Regions from separate parts of the Homo sapiens genome. Here region 2 is linked to region 1. The links are contacts of gene promoters, found by promoter capture Hi-C in human tissues and cell types (Jung and others, 2019). All regions are on one chromosome and are shown on one strand. The core of a region is centred on a gene start or on the middle of the fragment in contact, and the rest is flanking DNA. Distances in the headings are between cores, read along the strand shown.

What was found. Contacts are between HindIII fragments. The study calls those that stand out against the background at their distance.
Region 2: a fragment that was not itself captured here is called in contact with the fragment with the promoter of DOK3 in region 1 in 1 of the 25 tissues and cell types used here (spleen).

Annotation. Positions count from the first base shown.
Region 1 is chr5:177,504,295-177,511,176 of GRCh38, forward strand. DOK3 (docking protein 3) reads right to left here and starts at 5,532. Exons shown (of 6, transcript NM_001308236.3): 1 at 5,464-5,532; 2 at 5,181-5,363; 3 at 3,943-4,248; 4 at 717-816; 5 at 449-621; 6 at 1-366. The coding sequence starts at 5,246. RefSeq lists enhancers at 1-165, 3,788-3,897, 3,918-3,967, 5,788-5,937 and a silencer at 5,518-5,657. The HindIII fragment of the contact is 13,536 bases long and covers 1-6,882 here.
Region 2 is chr5:177,290,321-177,296,632 of GRCh38, forward strand. It overlaps NSD1 (nuclear receptor binding SET domain protein 1), which reads left to right. Exons shown (of 23, transcript NM_022455.5): 22 at 1,634-1,838; 23 at 3,512-6,312. The coding sequence ends at 5,139. Among named protein-coding and RNA genes, the nearest start is that of RAB24, 10 kb to the right of the region's middle. RefSeq lists enhancers at 5,380-5,881, 5,882-6,312. The HindIII fragment of the contact is 5,839 bases long and covers 1-4,472 here.

The DNA.
Region 1 (6,882 bases), core at 4,282-6,781:
GCCTGGGGGCCCACTGGCACGCTTGCACACTGAAGCGTAGAGCCCGGACGCCAGATCGTTGGGCTCCGGGCCTAGCAGTAGCGGCAGGCTCTGGGGTCCGGGCTCGGCCAGGTGCATTTTCCTGGACGTGGGTGGCTCAGGTCCTGGTGGCATCTCCCGAAGCTCTCCGGGGGTGTCCAGGGAGGGCAGAGAGGTGGCCCGTGGCAGGGGGCAGGGCTGGGGCCTGGTCAGCTCTGGCAGCCGCTCCCGCTGGCGGGCGATGGCCCCGGCCACAGCCCTGCACAGGTCAGGGGCACAGGGGGTGCTGAAGGCAAAGAGGCCCTCACCCGAGTGGCAGCGACGGCCGGCCTCAAAGGAGAACACGCCCTGGGCACAGGGCACACGGGTGGGGATTAGCAGGAGGGTCCAGGGTGTCAGCCCCTCACCCTTTCCCACCCCTGCACCTCACCTTGTCGGAGCCGAACTTGCGCAGGAAGTGGTAGGGCCAGCTGTAGAGGGCCTGGGTGCCCTTGGCCTCCCTCAGCTGGATGGCGTCTGGGCCCAGCACCAGCAGGGCCGGCCCCTTCAGCTGGCAGCGGGTGGCGGCCTCAGTCCTCTGCACCACCACGGGAAACTCGCCCACTGTGGCAGGTGGCCAGGACAGCTCCGTCAGTCCCAAAAAGACCCAGCCCTGGGTGTGGGGGGCTGAGGCTGCCCTTGCACGTCCTCCAACTTACCTTCCTGCCAGGAGGAGTAGATGGAGTTTTCCTCCATGGGGACCAGGCCCCTCTTGGGAGACTGGGCATCTGTGGATCCTGAGGAGGCCTCCCCTGTCCCCTGGGGAATGAGTTCAAGTCAAAGGTGAGAGCACCGCACTCCCATGCCCTGTCCCCTCCCCTCAGTATCCCAGAACTCCACAAGCCAGGGGGCATCCAGGGGCCTGGGCTCCAGTTCCAGCTTTGCCCGGCTCGCTGCATAAGCCTAGGTCCCCTTCCGAGCCTGTTCTCCCACCTGGCTCCCCACTGAGAGTGCTGGGCTGGGCAAGAGGCACTGTGCTTGAGGGTGTCTGAGAGCTGCAGATCACTGGGGACACAAAAGGATGTCCCTTGCAGCCCCTGGGCTTGGCTGGGCCAGCTTCTGTATGTCTGACAGCCTAGAGCAGTACCCCAGGTGTCTTCCTCCATCTCACCACAGCCACCTGCTATGACCCTGCAAGGTGCCCCCAATCTCTGCCTCATCCCCACACCCAGGCCTTCAGCATGTCCCCTGTGCTCTTTCCCACTCAGCTCCTCTACTAGCACCACCCTGGCCCATAGCAACACAGCCGGGTCAAATGCCACAGCTTCCTCACCAGGCTCCTTGCTCCTGTCAACTGCCTTTTTTTTTGACATGGAGTCTTGCTCTGTCACCCATACTTGAGTGCAATGGCGAGATCTCGGCTGACTGCAATTTCCGCCTCCCGGGTTTGTTTTTTTTCTTTAAGATGGAGTCTCACTCTTGTCGCCCAGGCTGGAGTGCAGTGGCGCGATCTTGGCTCACTGCAAGCTCCGCCTCCCAGGTTCACGCCATTCTCCTGCCTCAGCCTCCCAAGTAGCTGGGACTACAGGTGCCCGCCACCAGGCCTGGCTAATTTTTTTTGTATTTTTAGTAGAGATGGGGTTTCACCATGTTAGCCAGGATGATCTCGATCTCCTGACCTCATGATCCGCCTGTCTCGGCCTCCCAAAGTGCTGGGATTACAGGCATGAGCCACCGCGCCCAGCCCGCCTCCCGGGTTTAAGTGATTCTCCTGCCTCAGTCTCCCAAGTAGCTGGGATTACAGGTGCCCACCACCATGCCTGGCTAATTTTTTGTATTTTTAGTAGAGACAGGGTTTTACCATATTGGGCAGGCTGGTCTCGAACTCCTGACCTCAGGTGATCCACGTGCTTCGGCTTCCCAAAGTGCTGGGATTACAGGCACGAACCTCCATGCCTAACCTCAACTGCCTTTTGTTTTTTGATTTTTAAAATATGATAAAATACAGAGAACATAAAATTTACTGTTTTAACCATCTTACTTTTTTTTTTTTTTTTGAGACAAAGTCTTGCTCTGTCGGCCAGGCTGGAATGCAGTGGTGCGATCTAAGCTCACTGCAACCTCTGCCTCCCAGACTCAAGCAATTCTGCTGCCTCAGCCTCTCAAGTAGTAGCTGGGATTACAGGCGTGTGCCACCACACCCAGCTAATTTTTGTAATTTTTTTTTAGTAGAGATAGGGTTTCACCATGTTGGCCAGGCTGGTCTCGAACTCCTGACCTCAGGTAATCCGCCTGCCTCGGCCTCCCAAAGTGCTGGGATTACAGGTGTGAACCACTACGCCCGGCCCATTTTACATCTTAAAGTGTATCATCAGTGCTCTTTTTTTTCTTTTCTTTTTTTTTTTTTTTTTTTTGAGACGGAGTTTTGCTCTCGTTGCCCAGGCTGGAGTGCAATGGCATGATCTCGGCTCACCGCAACCTCTGCCTCCCAGGTTCAAGCAATTCTGCCTGCCTCAGCCTCCCGAGTAGCTGGCATTACAGGCATGCACCACCATGCCCAGCTACTTCTGTATTTTTAGTAGAGACGGGGTTTCTCCATGTTGAGGCTGGTCTCGAACTTCTGACCTCAGGTGATCCGCCCGCCTCGGCCTCCCAAAGTGCTGGGATTATAGGCCTGAGCCACCGCACCCGGCCACCAGTGCTTTTTAGTATACTCACAAGGCTGTGCACTGTTGCCACTGTCTAGTTCCAGAACTTTTCCATCATCCCACATGGAAGCCCTGTACCCATGAGCAGCCACTCCCCACTTCTCCCTTCCTCCAGCTCCTGCCAACACTCATCTGATTTCTATCCCAATGGAGTTACCTTGTCTGTACATTTCTTTCTTTCTTCTTTTCTTTTTTTTTTTTGAGACAGGGTCTCACTATGTTGCCCAGGCTGATCTTGAATTCCTAGGCTCAAGCAATCCTCCTACCTCAGCCTCCCAAAGTGCTAAGATTACAGGCAAGAGCTACTGTGCCAGGCGTTTGTTTGTTTTTATGGCTGAGTAGTATTCCATCTTGCGGACGGACCACGTTTTGCTTATCCATTTGTCAGCTGATGGCCATGTAGGCTGTTTCCACCTTCTGGTGGCTGTGAGTAGTGCTGCTATGGACGTTCATGTCCATGTGGGTTTTTTTTTAAGATAGGGTCTTGCTCTGTCTCCCGGGCTGGAGTGAAGTGGCACGATTACAGCTCACTGCAGCCTCGACCTCTGGGGCTCATGCGATCCTCCTGCCTCACATGTACATGTTTTGTTTGAACACCTGTTCAAGTTCTCTTGGGCACACACCTAGGAGTGGACCTGTGGGCCACATGGTAACTCTGTTTACCTCTTTGAAGAACCCCCAGGCTCACTTCCTTTTGACCCATCACAGACCTTTTGGGGCTTTACAAACATGTCCGGCTTAAACCCTCCAAAGCCTTCGCCTCTCACTCAGAACAAAACCACACACATGGCCTAGGGCATTTCAGCCGCTCTCCTAAGCTCTGTGAGTTGGCTTCCTCCTGCACTCCTTTCCTTCCAGCCACGTCGCCTTCTTTCTGCCCTTAAACACCCCACACTGTCCGGCCTCGGGGCCTCTGCCCACGGGACTCCCTCTGTTCACAACTCCCCAGGCTGCCCCTGTCCTCAGACCTTTGCCCAGTGGGTTCCTGTCATTCAGGGCCCTCCTCTGAGAGGCCTTCCCTGGCCACCCTGCCCGTCGCTCCCTCACTTCCTCCTGCTCCCCTGGCGGTCCATTTTCTCCATGGCACGCACGGCCCTCTGAGAGTCATTATAGATTTACTTTTCCCAGGCTTGTAGGTGCTCGGTGGAGCTTGCTGGGTGATGGGATGTGAGCGTGGAGGTGGACAAGTCGGGGGCAGGTGCCCCAGCCCAATCGCCCCCCTGCTCGCCGCACTCACCGGGAAGGCCAGCTGGCAGATGGGGCCCATCCAGGCCTGGCGGTGCTGAGCAGCCAGTAGATGGCTTCGCTCGGTGGTGGTGAGCAGGAAGGCACCGGTGTCCCGGGGGCAGCTCTCGCCGTCAGCCGGCAGCACGGACACACAGTCAGCCAGGCGGATGACCCGTCGCTCCCCTCGCCGGCCAGGCCCTGCCGACCTGTCACCCGCTGCTCCCAGGCCACCATCCCGGACCTCCCAGCTCTCCAGCCGTGCCACGCCTGATGGGCCTCCTGCATACAGCAGAGCCCACACCTTCCGCCAGCACTTCTGCGGGAGGGGAGCGGGAGGGTGAAGACCCTTGGGTGGCAGATTGTCCGTGCCACTTGGCTCAGCACAAGCTGCTCGGCAAACGCTCCCAGCCAGGAGCGGGCCTCTGCTCCCCAGTTTCTCAGGGAGCCAGGTAAGGAGGCCTTGGCTATGCTTGGGATTGGTCAGCCCTGGGTTCAAATCCCAGCCCGCTCTTTCCTAACTGTGACCTCCACAAGCATCAATGTCGTCTCTCAAAAGGCCATGAGAACTCGAGCTGGGACTGCTACTGGGTCATGTTTGTAAAGCATCCAGTGGCCGGGCAGACCACCAGACACTGCCATTATATTGGTTCCCTCTCACCCCCAAAAAGGGGCACTTGGGCCACAGGCCAAGAGCTGGGGTGGGAGGGAGGCCTCTGCCTCAAGCTGTTAAGGAAGGAAACATGCAAATAGCTTCGAGCAAAGGAAACTGACGGTTTATCTGCCTGGGCAGCAGCTGCAGCTGAGCTGCGGGGGTGTGGGGCTGCTGCCGAGGAGAGGTGACCCCCTGCCTCCTTGCTCCCAGGACAGTGCCGCTGCAGGGAGGGGCTCCACCCTTGAGGCCTCCTCCAGCTCAGCCCCTCACCCTATTTAGGGCCCTCGGTGGCACTATTTCATGGGTCAGAGGCTGTGAAGCTCTTCCCTGCTGGGAGGTTTGAGCCTTCGACCCTCTCCCACTCCTGTATTTCCCATCTCTCCCGGAGGCAGGGTCTGGCAGAGCCTGCTCAGCCCCTGCCGTCTCAGGCTGACACCCGCACTCCATTCCACTCCCCATACCTGGGTGGGATCCTCCACCCTGACTCCCTTCCCAAGTCTCCCAGGTCTGCCTGGGCTGTCCGAGGCAGGGGCAGAGGCTGCATTCTCCACCCACTGTTGGTCCTTGGCAGCTGCCTGGCAGCCAGGGGTCCCCACCTTGCCAAACTTGACATGCTGCTGGTAGAGGATGCCATCCTTGATAGGGGTCTCCAGAGGGTCCATGGTCACGGCCAGGAGCAGGGCCGCCGCTTCAAGACCTGGGGAGACTGATGACAGGCTGGACGGGAACTCCTCACACTTCCCCTTCTGGCCACTTCCCGTCCCTCCGTCTAGAGACAGCTGCAGGCCGGGGGGAGGGGAGCCTGTCTTCAGCTCAGGGGCTGGGGGCAGCATGTATTTCCTCCCTGGGGTTCTGGCTGCCCAAGGTGCCCACACCTACCTGGAGGGAGCCCCCGGCCACCTGAAGGCAGCCTTCTCACGCACCTGGTTCAGCTGGGCACGCGCGTCTGATCGCAGTCTGGCTCCCCGAGTCATGAGTTCCCGCCCCTCCCCCGTCCCGCCCCGGGCAGCTGCGCACCCTGGGCCTGACACTCCCTGGCCCTGCCTCCACCCAGGACCCTTCTCTAGCCAACTCCTGGCTTTCCCACTCGGCGTCCTGGTTTGAGCGCCTCACCCCATCTTGCTGCTTTTCTTTCTCCCTGAAATCTCTCTCGTGTTCACCTGCTCCTCTCCACCTCACGAGCCACTGAACATCACCAGCCTTTGGCATCCCCCCAGGGGCCACTGCCCCACTGGGCCTCCATGCAGCACTCTCCACAACCCAAGACCAACCTGTCTCTCCCCTTCCTGGGGTGCAGCCCAGGCTCCTCAGCCCAACACTCAGGGACCTGTGTGTTCTGGCCTGCATCTCCCCCAGGCCAGCCCCTCCAGGGCCCCCTCACCACTGTGCTGCCTGGGGCGGTTGGCCACCTCTTCCTCCTGGAGGCCTCCCTTGACCACTCCACGCTGTCCGAGAGCTCAAAGGCCCTCACGGTATACACTCACGCTGGGCATCCAGTCCACATGGGACCCACAGCCCTGAATGGCCCCAACCACGTGAGTGTGGGTGGCAGGTCCCAGGGGGCCCCGGAGAGGTCACATGTTCATTTAAAGCTTTGCTTCCTGCTGGGGGCGCCTTTTGTTGGCTTGCCTAGCAAGATGCCAATAGCGGGGCTGTGTGTATACCTTTATTCTGGAACAGCCTCAGGTCATTCAGCACCACCTCTGGGAGAGAACATGGAAGAGGATAAGGAATGCCATTTGGGAATGCACTTGGCCAGGAAATATGTCCTGAAGGCCTCCTGGCACCCAGCTCTGTGCCCACTGTGGCCCAAGCAGCCCTAAGCTCCGTCCACCTCAGACGCCACATCCTTTGCGTTCTCATCGCCATTTCAACAGTGAGGAAATCGGTGCTCAGAAAAATTAAGTAACTTGCCCAATGCCACATATCAAGTGACAAATATGGCTTGAGCAACCGCTGTCTCACTGGAATGAGCATGTGGCCATACATGCAAAGTGCCTGGCTCAGAGGAAGTGTGGCCGCCTGTGCCGTCCCTGCCTACCTCTCACCAGATGCTGAGATCCTGCCTCATCTGCTAGCGGTCTTGTGACTGCCGTCCACGTTTCTGCGTGTGCGTCTTTCTCTCCCCTCGCCTGACGGCTTCCCAGGCAGCCATCTCCCTGGCCCATCTAGGTCCTCACAGCTCAGCAGAGCTGGGCACAGAGCAGGCTTAGGGAGAGCTTGTGGCCTAAATGGCAGTTCTATGACATCTGCTGCCTCCTCAGTCAACGGAATGGAGGGCTCCCTCCAGGTGGCTGG
Region 2 (6,312 bases), core at 303-2,802, 220 kb before region 1:
TCCATATGCCTTTTTGATTGTGAAGCTCAACATTAAGAACTGAAAAATGCAAATTAACATAGAAGCCAATAAGAAAAGAGTAAATAAATTTTTTTTTTTTTTTTTGAGACGGAGTCTCGCTCTGTTGCCCAGGCTGAAGTGCAATGGTATGATCTCGGCTCACTGTAACCTCCGTCTCCCAGGTTCAAGTGATTCTCCTGCCTCAGCCTCCCAGGTAGCTGGGATTACAGGCCCCTGCCACCACACCTGGCTAATTTTTTGTATTTTTAGTGGAGATGGGGTTTCCCCATGTTGGCCAGGCTGGTCTCAAACTCCTGACCTCAGGTGATCCACCTGCCTCAGCCTCCCAAAGTGCTGGGATTACAGGCGTGAGCCACTGCGCCTGGCCAGAAATGAAGAGCACTCAATGATCATTTTTTAATCTTGTTAAATAAGGAGAATCACCTCTATATTATACTGGATTTTATTGTGCTTTTTGTTTAGTTTTGTTGGTTTAACGGTGTTGTTCCTTAAGATGTTGACTTGTTTCCTATAAATTAAAATAGTAACTCAGTTTAACCTGTACTTAATGGTATTAAGTGTAGTGCGGATGTCAGTTTCAGCATCCTTGATGTCTGCATGGGATAGCATTTCACAGGAGTCAGTCAGAGGTAGATGCTAGAGAGGTCACTGTGTGCTCTTAGTAGATACTGGTCTGTCAGAATAGGGTGGACCTCCATTAAGCCTTACAGATTGGTCCTGGATGTTTCTGGGTTAAAATGAAGAATGTGATAAGATGATTTGGTGACCAAGTGTGGGCTGCAGGGAACAAAGAGAGAACATCTGCTGGCTGCTCCAGGGTCTGCCTTGGGAGTGGTGGACCTGAAGCTAATTTGACTTGATGTGTAGTCTTATTGACGGCAGGGACCATGAATTAACTTTTTTGTGTCTTAACACATTGCTTATAGTAAGTTCAGTTATGCTTTGTTGAATGAACGAGAAATAGGCATGTGTACCCACACACAGAAGTCTAGTTTAGTTCTGAAAGTAGACGAATATAAAAGTGAAACTTTGGCCAGGTGCGGTGGCTCACGCCTGTAATCCTAGCACTTTAGGAGGCCAAAGCGGGTGGGTCACAAGGTCAGGAGTTCGAGACCAGCTTAACCAATATGCTGAAAACCCGTCTCTACTAAAAATACAAAAATTAGCCAGGAGTGGTGGTGGGCGCCTGTAATCCCAGCTACTCAGGAGGCTGAGGCAGGAGAATTGCTTGAACCCAGCAGGCGGAGGTTGCAGTGAGCCGAGATCGCGCCACTGCACTCCAGCCTGGGCAACACAGCAAGACTCCGTCTTGAAAAATAAATAAATTAATTAACTAATAAAACTTATGAAAGGCATGTCATTTAACACCAGCCTTATGGATCAGCAAAAACACAAAGATTTTTGTCTTCTGTTTTGTTCAGGTGGCAGGAGTAGTTGATACAAAAATTATTGCTACGTATCTGTGATGTACCAGGTACCTTTCCTGCATTTTATCTTCATGACAATCTCTTTTCCCAGAGAAGAGAATGAGGCTCAGAGAGGGTAGTTAACCCGGTTAAGATTGGTACTAATGTGTTCACAGAATGCTGACTGTTCAATATCTGACCTGTAGAATCAACCCATTGCCACGGAAGAAAAGTCAAAGAAATTCAAGAAGAAGCAACAGGGAAAGCGCAGGACCCAGGGTGAAATCACAAAGGAGCGAGAAGATGAGTGTTTTAGTTGTGGGGATGCTGGCCAGCTCGTCTCCTGCAAGAAACCAGGCTGCCCAAAAGTTTACCACGCAGACTGTCTCAATCTGACCAAGCGACCAGCAGGTTGGTGCCAAAATCCATTTGTACCGCTACTCGTTCTCTCCATCATACTCAGGGTCTCATGCCATTTGCATCAGCCTTGAAGAAAGTGCCATTTGGTCTTTCCATGCATAATTTTGAGGGGTATGGTCTATTTTCTTATTTTGGAAATAATGAAAGCAAAGGCTTAGAATTCTTAGTTATGAAGAATGGGACAGCGGTGCACTTGCTGTGTTTCAGGTCCTTTACTTACAGTCATGTTTATTTCATTCCCCCAGCAGCCCATAATGGTTGGTTTTCTTCCATAATGCATGTGAAGAAACAGAGTGAGGATTGGGGAGGTGATCTTTCACACATAGATAGAGGAGCTGGATTGAGAGCTGGGTTTTTGACTCCAAGACTATTAAATCATGTTGCCTTTCTAGAGAAAGAAAGATTGAGATAGTAAAGCCTTTAGGTGGTTCTAGTCAGTGAGAGATGGATTGCCACCCTTTTAGCACTTCCTACCTTGCTCCCCTACGCCTAGTGCAGTCTCCCCCCATGCAGAGTAGACTTTTTTCCTCTAAAGGAGATTTGGTTGTATCAGTTAATACATGAGAAAGCTGCTCAGGTGGATGTGGTACCCAGGAAATTTGTAGTTGAAGAAATTGAGAACCTTTGAGTAGTGATTTGGGGTTAGAGAATTTTAGGGATTTGGATATGCCATCTATTTTAATGAACAAAAAAGAGAAACCAGTAGGGAGCCATTCCAGGGTGAGGAGATTATACATTACTAGTGACCTGCTTCCAAGAGTTGCAGAACGTTAAGAACTTTAGGGTATAAGTAAAAGGAATTTGTCCCCAAATTGGCTTTCCTTCACTGTATATTGGCCAGGGTCATGAAATAAAAGAAACTGAGGTAGGATGAGGGCAAGGCCATCACATTGACCTGTCAGCACCAGGAAGTAGAATTGTTTCAGAATCAACTGCTCAGGGTCGTCACTGGCGCAGGCTATGATAGAACCAATCTTGCCTGTGTGCCAGGAGTGGGAGCTGGTGTAGTTGATTTGAAGGTGGAAACACTGTCCCTGGTCAAGACCCTCAGGTTTCATGAAATGTGGGGAGGCAGGTAAAAGCTTAGGTCAGCTTTGGGTCTTTTCTACTGATTCCATGTGAACAACATATAACGTGCTGTGCTGATCTCAAGACTTAAAATAGAGCAAAGGTAAATCTTCCATTTTTCATGATTTTATATCTTTTCTATTACTGTTAATAGCAAATAAGCAGGAATCTAAATCACCAGGATATTTCTCTTTGAGTTGCTTATTTAAAAGCTGTATAGTACAAATGGAGATTGCAAAAATATAAAAGTAATATCTTAAGTTTCATGTAAAAGAAACTTTTTGTTGTCCCCACCCCCGCCCCCCCCTCACCTCCTTGCTGGAAATAGTCATAGAAATACCAATTTACTCTTCTGCTTGTATATTTAGTTGATAGTAGTTGCTATTTGATAATTCGCTGTTACTTTATGTATTCTGTGCACAAAAAGAAGCTGGAATTCTGGGGCAAGAGGTGGCTGGTGAGTGGCATAAGCTCTCTGAAGCAGGGACAGTGTGAAGGAAGGTCATCATCCACACCTTCGGACTGTAGCATAGCCTTGGCCCATGTGATATGTATCTCTTTTTTCCTAAACTTTTGATTTACTTCTGTGTTTTCAGGGAAATGGGAATGTCCGTGGCATCAGTGTGACATCTGCGGGAAGGAAGCAGCCTCCTTCTGTGAGATGTGCCCCAGCTCCTTTTGTAAGCAGCATCGAGAAGGGATGCTTTTCATTTCCAAACTGGATGGGCGTCTGTCTTGTACTGAGCATGACCCCTGTGGGCCCAATCCTCTGGAACCTGGGGAGATCCGTGAGTATGTGCCTCCCCCAGTACCGCTGCCTCCAGGGCCAAGCACTCACCTGGCAGAGCAATCAACAGGAATGGCTGCTCAGGCACCCAAAATGTCAGATAAACCTCCTGCTGACACCAACCAGATGCTGTCGCTCTCCAAAAAAGCTCTGGCAGGGACTTGTCAGAGGCCATTGCTACCTGAAAGACCTCTTGAGAGAACTGACTCCAGGCCCCAGCCTTTAGATAAGGTCAGAGACCTCGCTGGGTCAGGGACCAAATCCCAATCCTTGGTTTCCAGCCAGAGGCCACTGGACAGGCCACCAGCAGTGGCAGGACCAAGACCCCAGCTAAGCGACAAACCCTCTCCAGTGACCAGCCCAAGCTCCTCACCCTCAGTCAGGTCCCAACCACTGGAAAGACCTCTGGGGACGGCTGACCCAAGGCTGGATAAATCCATAGGTGCTGCCAGCCCAAGGCCCCAGTCACTGGAGAAAACCTCAGTTCCCACTGGCCTGAGACTTCCGCCGCCAGACAGACTGCTCATTACTAGCAGTCCCAAACCCCAGACTTCAGACAGGCCTACTGACAAACCCCATGCCTCTTTGTCCCAGAGACTCCCACCTCCTGAGAAAGTACTATCAGCTGTGGTCCAGACCCTTGTAGCTAAAGAAAAAGCACTGAGGCCTGTGGACCAGAATACTCAGTCAAAAAATAGAGCTGCTTTGGTGATGGATCTCATAGACCTAACTCCTCGCCAGAAGGAGCGGGCAGCTTCACCTCATCAGGTCACACCACAGGCTGATGAGAAGATGCCAGTGTTGGAGTCAAGTTCATGGCCTGCCAGCAAAGGTCTGGGGCATATGCCGAGAGCTGTTGAGAAAGGCTGTGTGTCAGATCCTCTTCAGACATCTGGGAAAGCAGCAGCCCCTTCAGAGGACCCCTGGCAAGCTGTTAAATCACTCACCCAGGCCAGACTTCTTTCTCAGCCTCCTGCCAAGGCCTTTTTATATGAGCCAACAACTCAGGCCTCAGGAAGAGCTTCTGCAGGGGCTGAGCAGACCCCAGGGCCTCTTAGCCAATCCCCGGGCCTGGTGAAGCAGGCGAAGCAGATGGTCGGAGGCCAGCAACTACCTGCACTTGCCGCCAAGAGTGGGCAATCTTTTAGGTCTCTCGGGAAGGCCCCAGCCTCCCTCCCCACTGAAGAAAAGAAGTTGGTAACCACAGAGCAAAGTCCCTGGGCCCTGGGAAAAGCCTCATCACGGGCAGGGCTCTGGCCCATAGTGGCTGGACAGACACTGGCACAGTCTTGCTGGTCTGCTGGGAGCACACAGACATTGGCACAGACTTGCTGGTCTCTTGGAAGAGGGCAAGACCCCAAACCAGAGCAAAATACACTTCCAGCTCTTAACCAGGCTCCTTCCAGTCACAAGTGTGCAGAATCAGAACAGAAGTAGTACCAATCAATGTCACATGAACAAACAAGCTGCCCCCAGGGTACCATTTGGGGAGGGGAAATCTTTTCTTTCTTTCCCCCTTAAAAAAAAACACATCTGCCCCGAACACTTTCCCACTGTTATTCTTTCCTCATATCCCAACACTCAGAACTCTTGTGACATTAGCCAGTGGGGGCTTATGGTTGTGTGAACCATGTATGAAAATCCAGTGGGCCCCAACCAAGGAGACAGACAGACTTGGGTCTCTTTCCCCCAACTTTTCCACATGGTCATCGTGAAATAAAAAGTCCACTCTGGAGTCAAGTATGGAATTCAATTCCGCTGGTCAGGTTGGAAGGTATAGGGGCTCTCAAAGCGATTTCCCCAACCAGACAGAGCCCCATTGAGGGCACCTAGGAACCCTTGGGAGGAAATGGTGTTCTTTCAAATCAGTGGCGATTTCCTGAGCATTCACGTGTTCTAGGCCGGGTGCTAGTCACTGATGAGAGATACAGGCCTCATCCCTGTGAGCCTGGATTCCAAGGCTTTCAGGAACCTTTGACCAGGAAGTAACAGGAAGTTCTGAGGGGCCCTGGGGCTTTAGACTCATTTTGAAATGTCCTTTGTGGCACCAGAAGTGGTTGTGTTGAGGAAGTGTCTCTTGGCTGCGGTGTGCATGGGTGCGTGTGCATGCGCGCACACTCACAGAGGTCTCCTCTATAGATGCAAGGGTGCTGCATTGAGGCCAGCAAGGCTGTTGGCTGTGGGGTCGCCGCTGCTGCTTTTGTCTGGGCTGTGCAGAGTCTCAAGATCAGTCCTTGGAGGAGCAGGTGGTCAGGGGCAGTCGGGCTCTGTGCGAATGTAGATTTCCAGCAGTGGAAGAAGGCATTTGGCAAGCTTCTCTTTCTTTGCTTTTGTTTCTACCTATTTTTCTCTTTGTACATGAATCCACCCCATCCCTATTTCCCTAAAACACTCAGGTGCTTTCAGATTTCAGAGCCTCGGGCAGTGGACATAGGGAATCTCTGGCAAGCTCTGAGCTAGACACACCAGCTTCAGGAAGAGTACCAGATCCTGATGGGAAATTTCTTTTCCCCATTCCTTTTCCCTCCTGAGTGGAGGGAGTCCTCTTCTTCGCCTCCCTGAGAATTGCTGTGCTCTGTATTGAGAGCACCTGCCTGCTGACTTAGCTCA